Linked DNA regions of Homo sapiens: region 2 is linked to region 1. Evidence: promoter capture Hi-C in human tissues and cell types (Jung and others, 2019). All regions are on one chromosome and are shown on one strand. Each heading gives the region's core, a stretch centred on a gene start or on the middle of the fragment in contact. The rest is flanking DNA. Distances are from core to core; before and after follow the strand shown. Region 1 holds the start of DOLPP1 (dolichyldiphosphatase 1). Region 2 overlaps KYAT1-SPOUT1 (KYAT1-SPOUT1 readthrough).

The links. Contacts are between HindIII fragments. The study calls those that stand out against the background at their distance.
Region 2: a contact is called between a fragment that was not itself captured here and the fragment with the promoter of DOLPP1 in region 1, in 1 of the 25 tissues and cell types used here (dorsolateral prefrontal cortex).

Annotation. Positions count from the first base shown.
Region 1 is chr9:129,079,288-129,084,340 of GRCh38, forward strand. DOLPP1 (dolichyldiphosphatase 1) reads left to right here and starts at 1,824. Exons shown (of 8, transcript NM_020438.5): 1 at 1,824-1,920. The coding sequence starts at 1,845. RefSeq lists a silencer at 1,522-2,251. The HindIII fragment of the contact is 10,069 bases long and covers 1-5,053 here.
Region 2 is chr9:128,857,424-128,862,207 of GRCh38, forward strand. The region is part of intron 1 of KYAT1-SPOUT1 (KYAT1-SPOUT1 readthrough); the gene reads right to left. All of the region lies in intron 1 of KYAT1 (kynurenine aminotransferase 1), which reads right to left. Among named protein-coding and RNA genes, the nearest start is that of KYAT1, 22 kb to the right of the region's middle. RefSeq lists a silencer at 4,047-4,341. The HindIII fragment of the contact is 5,279 bases long and covers 832-4,784 here.

The sequences.
Region 1 (5,053 bases), core at 574-3,073:
GAACCACCAGAGCACATAAGAATGCAGACACCTGGGCTCCAACTCAGACCTACTGGATCAACCCAGGCCCCATTGTGACCCAGGAATCTGTGTTTTCTACAGGCTGATCTCAGCACTCCATGAATCTGAGAGCCGCTGCTGACTGGGAGGGATAGGGAGCCGATTACAGTCCAGTGAGGTCAGGGCTGAGAAAGGACAGGAAATGCAACCGTGAGAGCCCAGTACTGGCCCCTCACTTGACTGTGGAAACCTGTAAGCCGAGGAGACACCTGAACCAGATTGGGCCGGGCAAAGTAGGGCAGGAGAGGCAGTACATCCCACGCAGCAAAACAGCACATGGTGGCCAGGGGCGGTGGCTCACACCTGTAATCCCAGCACTTTGGGAGGCCGAGGTGGGCGGATCACGAGGTCAGGAGATCAAGACCATCCTGACCAACACGGTGAAACCCCGTCTCTACGAAAAGTACGAAAATTAGCCGGGCGTGCCACTGCACTCCAGCCTGGGCAACAGAGCGAGACTCCGTCTCAAAAAAAAAAAAAAAAAATTAGCTGGGCATGGCGGCTCACGCTTGTAATCTCAGCATTTTGGGAGCCGAGGCAGGTGGATCACCTGAGGCCAGGAGTTCGAGACCAGCCTGCCCAACATGGTAAGACCCGGTCTCTACTAAAAATGCAAAAATTAGCCGGATGCGGTGGTGCGCGCCTGTAGTCACAGCTACTCGGGAGGCTGAGACAGGAGAATCACTTGGACCCAGGAGGCTGAGCAAGATCGTTCCACTGCACTCCAGCCTGGGCCTCAGAGCAAGACCCTGTCTCAAAAAACAAACAAACAGACAAAAACAGCACATGCTAGCGGCAGGAGACAAGAGGCTGAGCCCTCCCAGCCCACCTTACCTGCACTGTAATCCAATCCAGCCAGAGACAGAGTCGGGTAGGAGAGGTGAAGGCGGGTGGGAAGGTGTGGCTGTTCACGCAGGAATGTCTTGGGAAAACTGAGGGGTAGGTGGAAAACCGACTTCTTGTTTGAAATGCTCCCAAGACGCCTCATTAAGTAGCATAGACGTGACTGAATCAATAAATCTTTATTAAATGAATGAAAGGAGGAAGGAGTCCTTAACTGTAGCTAAGCTTCCACTCTTAAGTATCAATTAAGCTTCTCTGTTCAGTCCAGCGTTTAGGGCGCCTACTGCGCGCCCCGCCCCACACACTTTTGACAAAAAGGTCGCCTGCTCTGTGTGACTTGCCCTTTCGCCGGCCAGTATGGGGCAGAGGGAAATAAGCCCCCTCTGCTCTCTGGTCTCAGTTTACTCGTAACTGAAAGTGGGTCGGTTCAAACCCCCTGGAGCTGAGGTTGCCTCTCCTCTTCGAGCACGCGCTATCGGACGCGCAGGTCCCCAAGACCGCGGATCGGCAGGGGGTACCAGGGAAGCCTTCATTCAGGGCGCAGGTCCCAGCCGAACCAAAGCTCCCACCAAAGTTCAACACGCCCCCAAAGCCAGCGCCTGATTGGCCCGCCCTGCCCACAAGCTGAGGCAGCCTCACCTTCTGATTGGCTGTTATGCTCCCTGTTCGGTGCTGGAACCCTCCCCTTCTCTGATTGGCCAGATGCCTACCTGCGCTCGCCCCAGATTGGGCGCCAGCTGGGGCGGCTCGTTGGCTCCCAGGGGCCCCGCTCTCTGATTCGCCGCTCGGGCCAGCCCCCACGGCCTGCACGCTGAATGGCTGCGCCGCTACCTATATTGGCCTCCGATTGGGTGCACGGCGCCTCCCCGGCGTGATAGGTCAGGACCACCGCCCCCCTGGCTCCCCATTGGCTGCTCGAAGAAGCCCGGTCTCCGGGTAAGATGGCAGCGGACGGACAGTGCTCGCTCCCCGCTTCATGGCGGCCGGTGACCCTCACCCACGTCGAATATCCTGCAGGTAAAAGGCGGTCCCGGCTCCAAGGACGCCTTCCCAGGGACGGCCTCTCAGTCCCGGGCGCTCCGGCCTGCTCGAGCCCGCGGAGGGGGCGCCGGGGGACCGGGGTGGGAACTGTCAAATAGTGAACCACGGAGGGGCTCGGCCGGCGCGCGCGCCGCGCAGGCGCAGTGGTGCGAGGATGAGCTGGGCGAAATTGTGAGGCGCTCGCTCGCGCACTCTGCGGCTGCGCGGCCAGGGCGCTCCCCCGGGTCCCGGGGCGCCGGTGGGCTGAAATGGGTTGAGGATCTGTGTGAGGCGAGAAAAGATCCCTGGCCTGGACCTTGGCCCTTCTTCCCCGCCCTCCCCTGTCCCAGAGAGGCCGCACTCCTGTTCCAGCGTGCAGGGAGTGTCTTGTTTCCTTCGAACAGTGCTTTGGGCTGCTTGTAAGAGAAAGAGCTCCCCGTTGCTGGGAGTGTGCAAGCCGAAGCCAGGCTTTTGAGTACTTGTGGTGCCACGCCCTGAGCAGGGCACGATTCCACAACAGAGAGGACCCGATGAGGGGGCGGGCAGCCTCCGGGAACTTGACTTCTGTTGCTTCCCATCAGACACACCTCTCGAAGTGCAGGGCTTTCCAGTTGAGAGGTCCATTAGCGGCGTTCTGGAGGCTGTCTAGTAAGAGTGGCGCAGAGCCTGGGCGTGGGGGTCAGACCCATCTGGGCTCCAGTTGAGGCTGAGGCCTTGTGCAGGTGCCTGCCTCTGCTTAAGTTAATTCATCTCTAAAGTGGGACTGATTACAGTGCTTACCTTCTGGTGATGGTATGAGCATCAAATAGCAGGAGGCACAAGAAGGGCTGAGTACAGTGCCCGGCATGCAGTAAGCGTTCAGTAAATACCTGCAGTTAATGTTATCCCACCTTGCAAGACCCTCCCTGGGTAAGATGGTTGAGTGCCAGGGAAGGCTGGAGCCCCTCATTGAGCCCTGGTTGCCTGGGAAGGGCCTGCTCATGCTGCTGTCTTGCGAGATGTGAGAACCTGGGTCCGCTGAGGGCACCAGGACTGAATGCCAAAGAACGTTGACGCTGGTGTTCTGGGTTGTACTGGGGGTGGTATGGCCCTGCCAGGTCCTGGGCCCTGCCTGCCTGCCTGTCTACCATTCATTCATCCATTCATTCATTCAGTCAATATCCACTGAACACTTCTGAGTGCTAGGCCCTGGGCTAGCTCTGGTTTTTAGAATGCTTAACAGGCCTGAAATATCCCTGCATTCCTGCACTATGAAAACCAGCTGCTTTATAAGAGGAAAGCCAAAGCCTGGAGGTGGGGAAAGACTTGCTAAGGCCTCTGCACCTTCACAGCTTCCCCTCCTGGCCTCAGAGTAGCTTCTTGGAGTGCTCACAATCCAACAAGCCAGAAGGAACCTGGCAGGCAGTTGTGTGCAGCATGATACAGGCTGTGATGGACCTGGCTGAGCCTGGAGCATCTGGTGAGGTCTAGTCCCCTATTAATGCTTCCATGGTTCCCTGCACTTCTCCGTCACACCCCTCTTCACACCGTCACTTGCTTACTTCATTCATTCAACAGTTTTTGAGCCCAGTTAAGAGCCAGGCCCTGTGCTGGGCTTGGGGGATAGAGTGGGATATAAAGAGACCCTGTCTCTACTCCCAGATGCTGTCCTGATATCTACATTAGTGGATCATGAACTGAGTCTGGATGGCAGATTCTCCCGTCAGACCTCAAGCTCTGCACTAGCAGGGACATATGTGTCTTTTTTTTTGCCACTGTGGTGGGTTCTTAGTTGTTTGTTGAGTTCACCCAGAGAGCGTCCCAGGTGGGGGGAAACTGTGTGCAAAGGTCCAGAAGTAGGACAGGGCACGATGCGCTCAGGGAACTCGAGTTTGGTCCTTGGAACTGGAGCAGAGGTTGAGAGGGAAGCAGGGCCAGGACTGTGCAGGGCCAGATGAGCTGGGCTGAGGGGGAACTTGTCCTAAGGGCAGTGGGAGGCCTGAGGGGGCTTGGATCAGAGAGTAGAGAGGCCAGAGTCCCTGGTAGCATCTTCAGGAAAACCCCAGGGTAGTGCTGGCTCTGGGACAGGCTATGGAGATGGCTAAAGCTTTGGGGGTACCAGTCACTCACTATCTTCATAGCCCAGTGCTGTGAGGGTGAGCTTCATAGTGGAGAGGCCCAGGAAAGAGAAGGGACTCACCCACTGTCACCCAGTGGGACTGTGGCAGCACCAGCACTTGACCCCAGGCACTTAGCTGGGCTGCTCTGCTCTCCCAGACCAACTCCAGGCCAGTCTGATCCTGGGTAGGATGGGCTGGGTAGGATCCTGTGTGTGGATGAGACCGGGCATGTGTGTGTCTATGTCTTCAGCCCTGGAATCTGGGCTCAGCCCTCTGTGGACAACTTCCCTGCTGCTTGTGTGAGGCTGGTGGCATGGACCATTTCCCACACTGGGTTCTCTCCACCTCTGCCCCAACATGGAAGTGTCCTGGTTGCCAGGGACCAAGCTGGGTGTCTCACAGGTCCCATCTCATTGAGTCTCATGCAGCTGTAGGAGGTAGGCACTGATATCCCTATTCCACAAGTGGGTGAGCTGAGGCTTGAATCCTTGCCTCAGTTCATGCAGCCAGTGAGTGTGGGCATAGGAGCTGAACCATGCTCTCAGACCCCAGAGTGGCTACATAGCTGCCTGTCTCAAGTGGTGAGGGTGGCCTTCAGACTCAGCCTCCCCTGCCCTTGGATTCTCAGCTTGAGTGTCCCCATCTCCTAAAAGGGGCCAGTGTTCCTCTGCTGCCTCCATCCCAGGAGTGATGGGAGTGTCAGAAGCTGGTAATCAATAGGTAGGCAGTTTCCTGCCAGAGAAGTGGCGCGCAGCTGTTACCGTCGCCCTATTGGGCTTGGTTTCTGTCCGAGTCTTCAGTGTGGACCCAAGTCTGTGTGGTGTCCAGAGAACGTCGGATTTCCCTGGAGGCCCAGGGCTCAGCCAGGGCAGCCCCAGCACAACAGTGTGTGGCTCTCATGTGCCTGCCGGGCTGCCTCCCAGGTCCCAGGCTCCACCTCTGGAGTCACCAGGCCGGGTTCACCTTCCTGCTTTGGCAGGAGGGATTGGTCTAGTGTCTGGAACAGGTCAGAGACTTGGACTTTAGTCCTG
Region 2 (4,784 bases), core at 2,221-4,720, 220 kb before region 1:
ACCCACAGGTGTGGAGGGACAGGCCACCGCTTCACTCAGCTTCCCAAAGTGCTGAAATTACATGCGTGAGCCATGTGCCCTGCCCCATACACAAAAATTAATTCAAAGTGAATCACATAACTAAATGTATGGGCTGGGGACGGTGTCTCACGCCTGTAATCCCAGCACTTTGGGAGGCCAGGGCAGGCGGATCATAAGGTCAGGAGATCAAGACCATCCTGGCTAACACAGTGAAACCCCGTCTCTACTAAAAATACAAAAAATTAGCTGGGCGTGGTGGTGGGCACCTGCAGTCCCAGCTGCTCTGGAGGCTGAGGCAGGAGAATGGCGTGAACCCGGGAGGCGGAGCTTGCAGTGAGCAGAGATCACGCCACTGCACTCCAGCCTGGGCGACACAGCGAGACTCCGTCTCAAAACAAACAAACAAACAAAAAACAAAACTAAATGTATGAACTAAAACAAGAAAACTAGAAGAAAACATAGGAATAAATCTCTGTGACCTTGGGGTTCTAGACATAACATCCAAAGCATACACAACAAAAGAAAAAATAAACTGGACCTCATCAAAATTAAGAACTTTTGTGCTTCAAGGATACCCATTAAGAAAATGAAAAGACAGCCCATGGAATGGAAGGAAATATCTGCAAATCATAAATCTGAATGTTTCCAAAAAAGATACACAAACAGCCAAGGCTGGGCACGGTGGCTCACGTCTGTAATCCCAGCACTTTGGGAGGCTGAGGTGGGTGGGTCACCTGAGGTCAGGAGTTTGAGACCAGCCTGGCCAACACGACAAAACCCCATCTCTACCAAAAATACAAAAATTAGCTGGGCGAAGTCACATGCACCTGTAGTCCCAGCTACTTAGGAGGCTGAGGTACGAGAATCGCTTGAGCTCAGGAGGCAGAGGTTGCAATGAGCCAAAATTGCTCCACTGCACTCCAGCCTGGGCAACAGAGTGAGACCATGTATAAAAAAAAAAAAAAAAAAAAGCCCGGGCATGGTGGCTCATACCTGTAATCACAGCACTTTGGGAGGCCAAGGCGGGCAGATCACCTAAGGTCAGGAGTCTGAGACCAGCCTGACCAATATGATGAAACCCCATCTCTACTAAAACTACAAAAATTAGCCAGGCGTGATGGCATGCACCTGTAATCCCAGCTACTTGGAAGGCTGAGACTGGAGAATCACTTGAATCCGAGAGTCGGAGGTTGCAGTGAGCCACTGCACCATTGCACTCCAGCCTGGGCAACAAAAGTGAAATTCCATCTCAAAAAACAAAAAAAGAAAAAGAATGTTTTAGGCCAGGCCCGGTGGCTCACGCTTATAATTCCAGCACTTCGGGAGGCTGAGGTGGGCAGATCACTTGAGGTCAGGAGTTTGAGACCAGACTGGCCAACACGGTGAAATCCTGTCTGTACTAACAACACAAAAATTAGCTGGACATGGTGGCTCATACCTGTAATCCCAGCTACTCGGGAGGCTGAGGCAAGGGAATTGCTTGGAGGCTAAAGTGAGCTGAGATTGTGCGTTGCACTCCAGCCTGGGTGACAGAACAAGACTCCATCTCAAAAAAAAAAAAAAAGCAAAGAAAAGAAAAGAAAGAAAAAGAGTATTTTGGAGGAATGCTCTGGCATACTTAAAAATAGTTACCCTTGGCCAGGCACGGTGACTCACGCCTGTAATCCCAGCATTTTGGGAGGCCAAGGCAGGCGGATCACGAGGTCAGGAGATCGAGACCATCCTGGCTAACACGGCGAAACCCTGTCTCTACTAAAAATACAGAAATTAGCCAGGTGTGGTGGTGGGCACCTGTAGTCCCAGCTACTCGGGAGGCTGAGGCAGGAGAATGTCGTGAACCCAGGAGGCTGAACCTGCAGTGAGCTGAGATCGCGCCACTGCACTCCAGCCTGGGCAACAGAGGGAGACTCCGTCTCAACAACAAAAAAAAAAGTTACTCTCAGCTGGGTGCAGTGGCTCCTGCCTGTAATCCCAGCACTTTGGGAGGCTGAGGTGGGTGGATCACCTGAGGTCAGGAGTTTGAGACCAGCCTGGTCAACATGGTGAAACCCCATCTCTACTAAAAATACAAAAATTAGCTGGGTGTGGTGGCGCATGCCTGTAATCTCCCAGCTACTCAGGAGGCTGAGACAGGAGAATTGCTTGAACCCAGGAGGTGGAGGTTGCAGTGAGCCGAGATCGTGCTGGTGAGCCACCTTGCCCAGCCATTTTTTTTTTTTTTTGAGACAGAATCTCGCTCTGTTGCCCAGGCTGGAGCGCAGTGGCGCGATCTCGGCTCACTGCAAGCTCTGCCTCCCAGGTTCACACCATTCTCCTGCCTCAGCCTCCTAAGTAGCTGGGACTACAGGTGCCCGCCATCACACCCAGCTAATTTTTTGTATTTTTAGTAGAGACAGGGTTTCACCGTGTTAGCCAGGATGATCTCGATCTCCTGACCTCGTGACCCACCCGCCTCGGCCTCCCAAAGTGCATGAGAGGGGATTTATAGGGAAATTGACTCACGCAATTAATGGAGGCTGAGAAGTCCCCTGAGAGACTATTTGCAAGAGGTGCCAGTAGCGTGGCTCAGTCCAAGTCTGCAAGCCTCAGAACCAGGGACGCCACTGGGATAATTCTCAGTCCAAGGCTGAAGAGCCTAGAGTTTTGATATCCAAAGGGCAGGAGAAGGAGAATCTTCCAGCTCCAGGAGAGACAGAGACAGAAAGAGGAAAATTTTCTCCTCTTTTGTTTTTATTCAAGCCGTGAACCAATTGCATACTGCCACCCACATTGAGAGCGGATCTTCCCCACTCAGTCCACTGACTCCCACGCCAATCTCCTCTGGAAACACCCTCACAGACACACCCAGAAGTCATGTTTCACCATTCTCTAGGTATTCCTTACTCCAGTCCAGCTGCCACCTAACATTAACCAGCAGCACACATCCACGCTGCCAGACATTCGTCAGTTGCAGTTCAGGTTTTCCCACCCAGGTGCTGATTCCAGGGAAGGTTTCTGCTCTGGCAAATCATGATTCTCTGTATCTACCTTTCTGCCTCTCCAGTTTGGGGGCAGCAGGTTACCCTGTGACCTAATTTTCTGATGAACTGAAAAAGAGCCGCTGGTTTTTCAGTTTGTTCAGCCTTTTTTTTTTTTTTTTGAAACGGAGTCTTGCTTTGTCGCCCAGGGTGGAGTGCAGTTGCGCAATCTCGGCTCACTGCAAGCTCCGCCTCCTGGGTTCAAGCGATTCTCCTGCCTCAGCCTAAGTAACTGGGATTACAGTCGCATTCCACCATGCCTGGCTAATTTTTGTATTTTTAGTAGAGATGGGGTTTCACTATGTTGGTCAGACTGGTCTCGAACTCCTGACCTTAGGTGATCTGCCCACCTCGGCCTCCCAAAGTGCTGGGATTACAGTTGTGAGCCACTGCCTCCGGCCCACACGCATTTATTAAGTTTACCATCTTATATGGGCATGGTTTGTGGTTCCCCAAAACAAGCACAATAGTAATATCAAAGATCACTGATCACAGATCACCGTGTCAGACATAATAATAATGATAAAGTTTGAACTATTGTGGGAATTACACACAGACCCTAAGGGAACACATTCTGTTGGAACAATGGGAACAATAGACTTGCTTGGTGCAAGGTTCTCACAAAGCTTCAATTTGCAAAGACCGTGATATCTGCCAAACGCAATACAATGAAGTGTGGCTAGTTTGTTACAACAGCCTTAGGAATCAAATCCAAGGTGATGGGGTTGAGCTGTGTCCCCACCCAAATCTCATCTTGAATTGCAGTTCTCATAATTCCCACGTGTCCTGGGAGGGACCCAGTGGGAGGTAATTGAATCATGGGGGCAGTTACCCCCATGCTGCTGTGCTGGCGATAATGAGTGAGTTCTCATGAGAGCTGATGGTTTTATAAAGAGCTTTTCCCCCTTTGCTCAGCAGTTCTCTCTCCTGCCGCCATGTGAAGAACGTGTTTGCTTCCCCTTCTGCCATGATTTTAAGTTTCCTGAGGCCTCCCCAGCCATGAGGAACTGTGAGTCAATTAAATCTCTTTCCTTTATAAATGACCCAGTCTTGCGCAGTTCTTTATAGCAGTGGGAGAATGGGCTAACACACAAGGCGATGCCAGAGCTCACCCTCTCGTTCCTTAGATTTGAGAGCGGTTCCCAGGAGAGGCCTGAAGTATGTACTCTGACCCCTGAAACTAAGTACCTGTGCCTTGAGCAACAAAGGGTAGTGTTACTGCCATCCCAGGAGGGACATTCCTTGGTGTCACCTCAAGGGAGGGAGTCTGGTGCTTTAGCTCAGGTAACTCAGCTAAACGGATGAGCGGCCCAAGGGCAGGCCCAAGCCCAGGGCTGGTCATGGGAGGCACTCTGTGCCCTCTGCCTGTTCTATGAAGACCAACTATCTGCTGGCCCAGGACTGAGGGGTGTCTTGGGATGGGAACCATCCTGGGCCAAAGGGTCTCTTTAGGTTAGCCATTTCCTGTCCTAGACCCAACATCTTGCTACTTCTTCTAGGACTACAGGAGGAGCTGGATTTCACCCTACCGGGACCCACTCTACTGCTTTCTGACCACTGAGTTAAAAACCCACAGTTGCCTGGTAGGTCAATTCTCTCTCTGACACTCTCCCCCACATCGGACTCTGTGTCCATCAAATCAGTCTTTTTTTCCTGAAGTGACAACATTCTAAGTCATGTCTTCATCATCTCAAGTGAATTGAGCTAATTTTTGTATTTTTTGTAGAGATGTGGTCTCACTGTGTT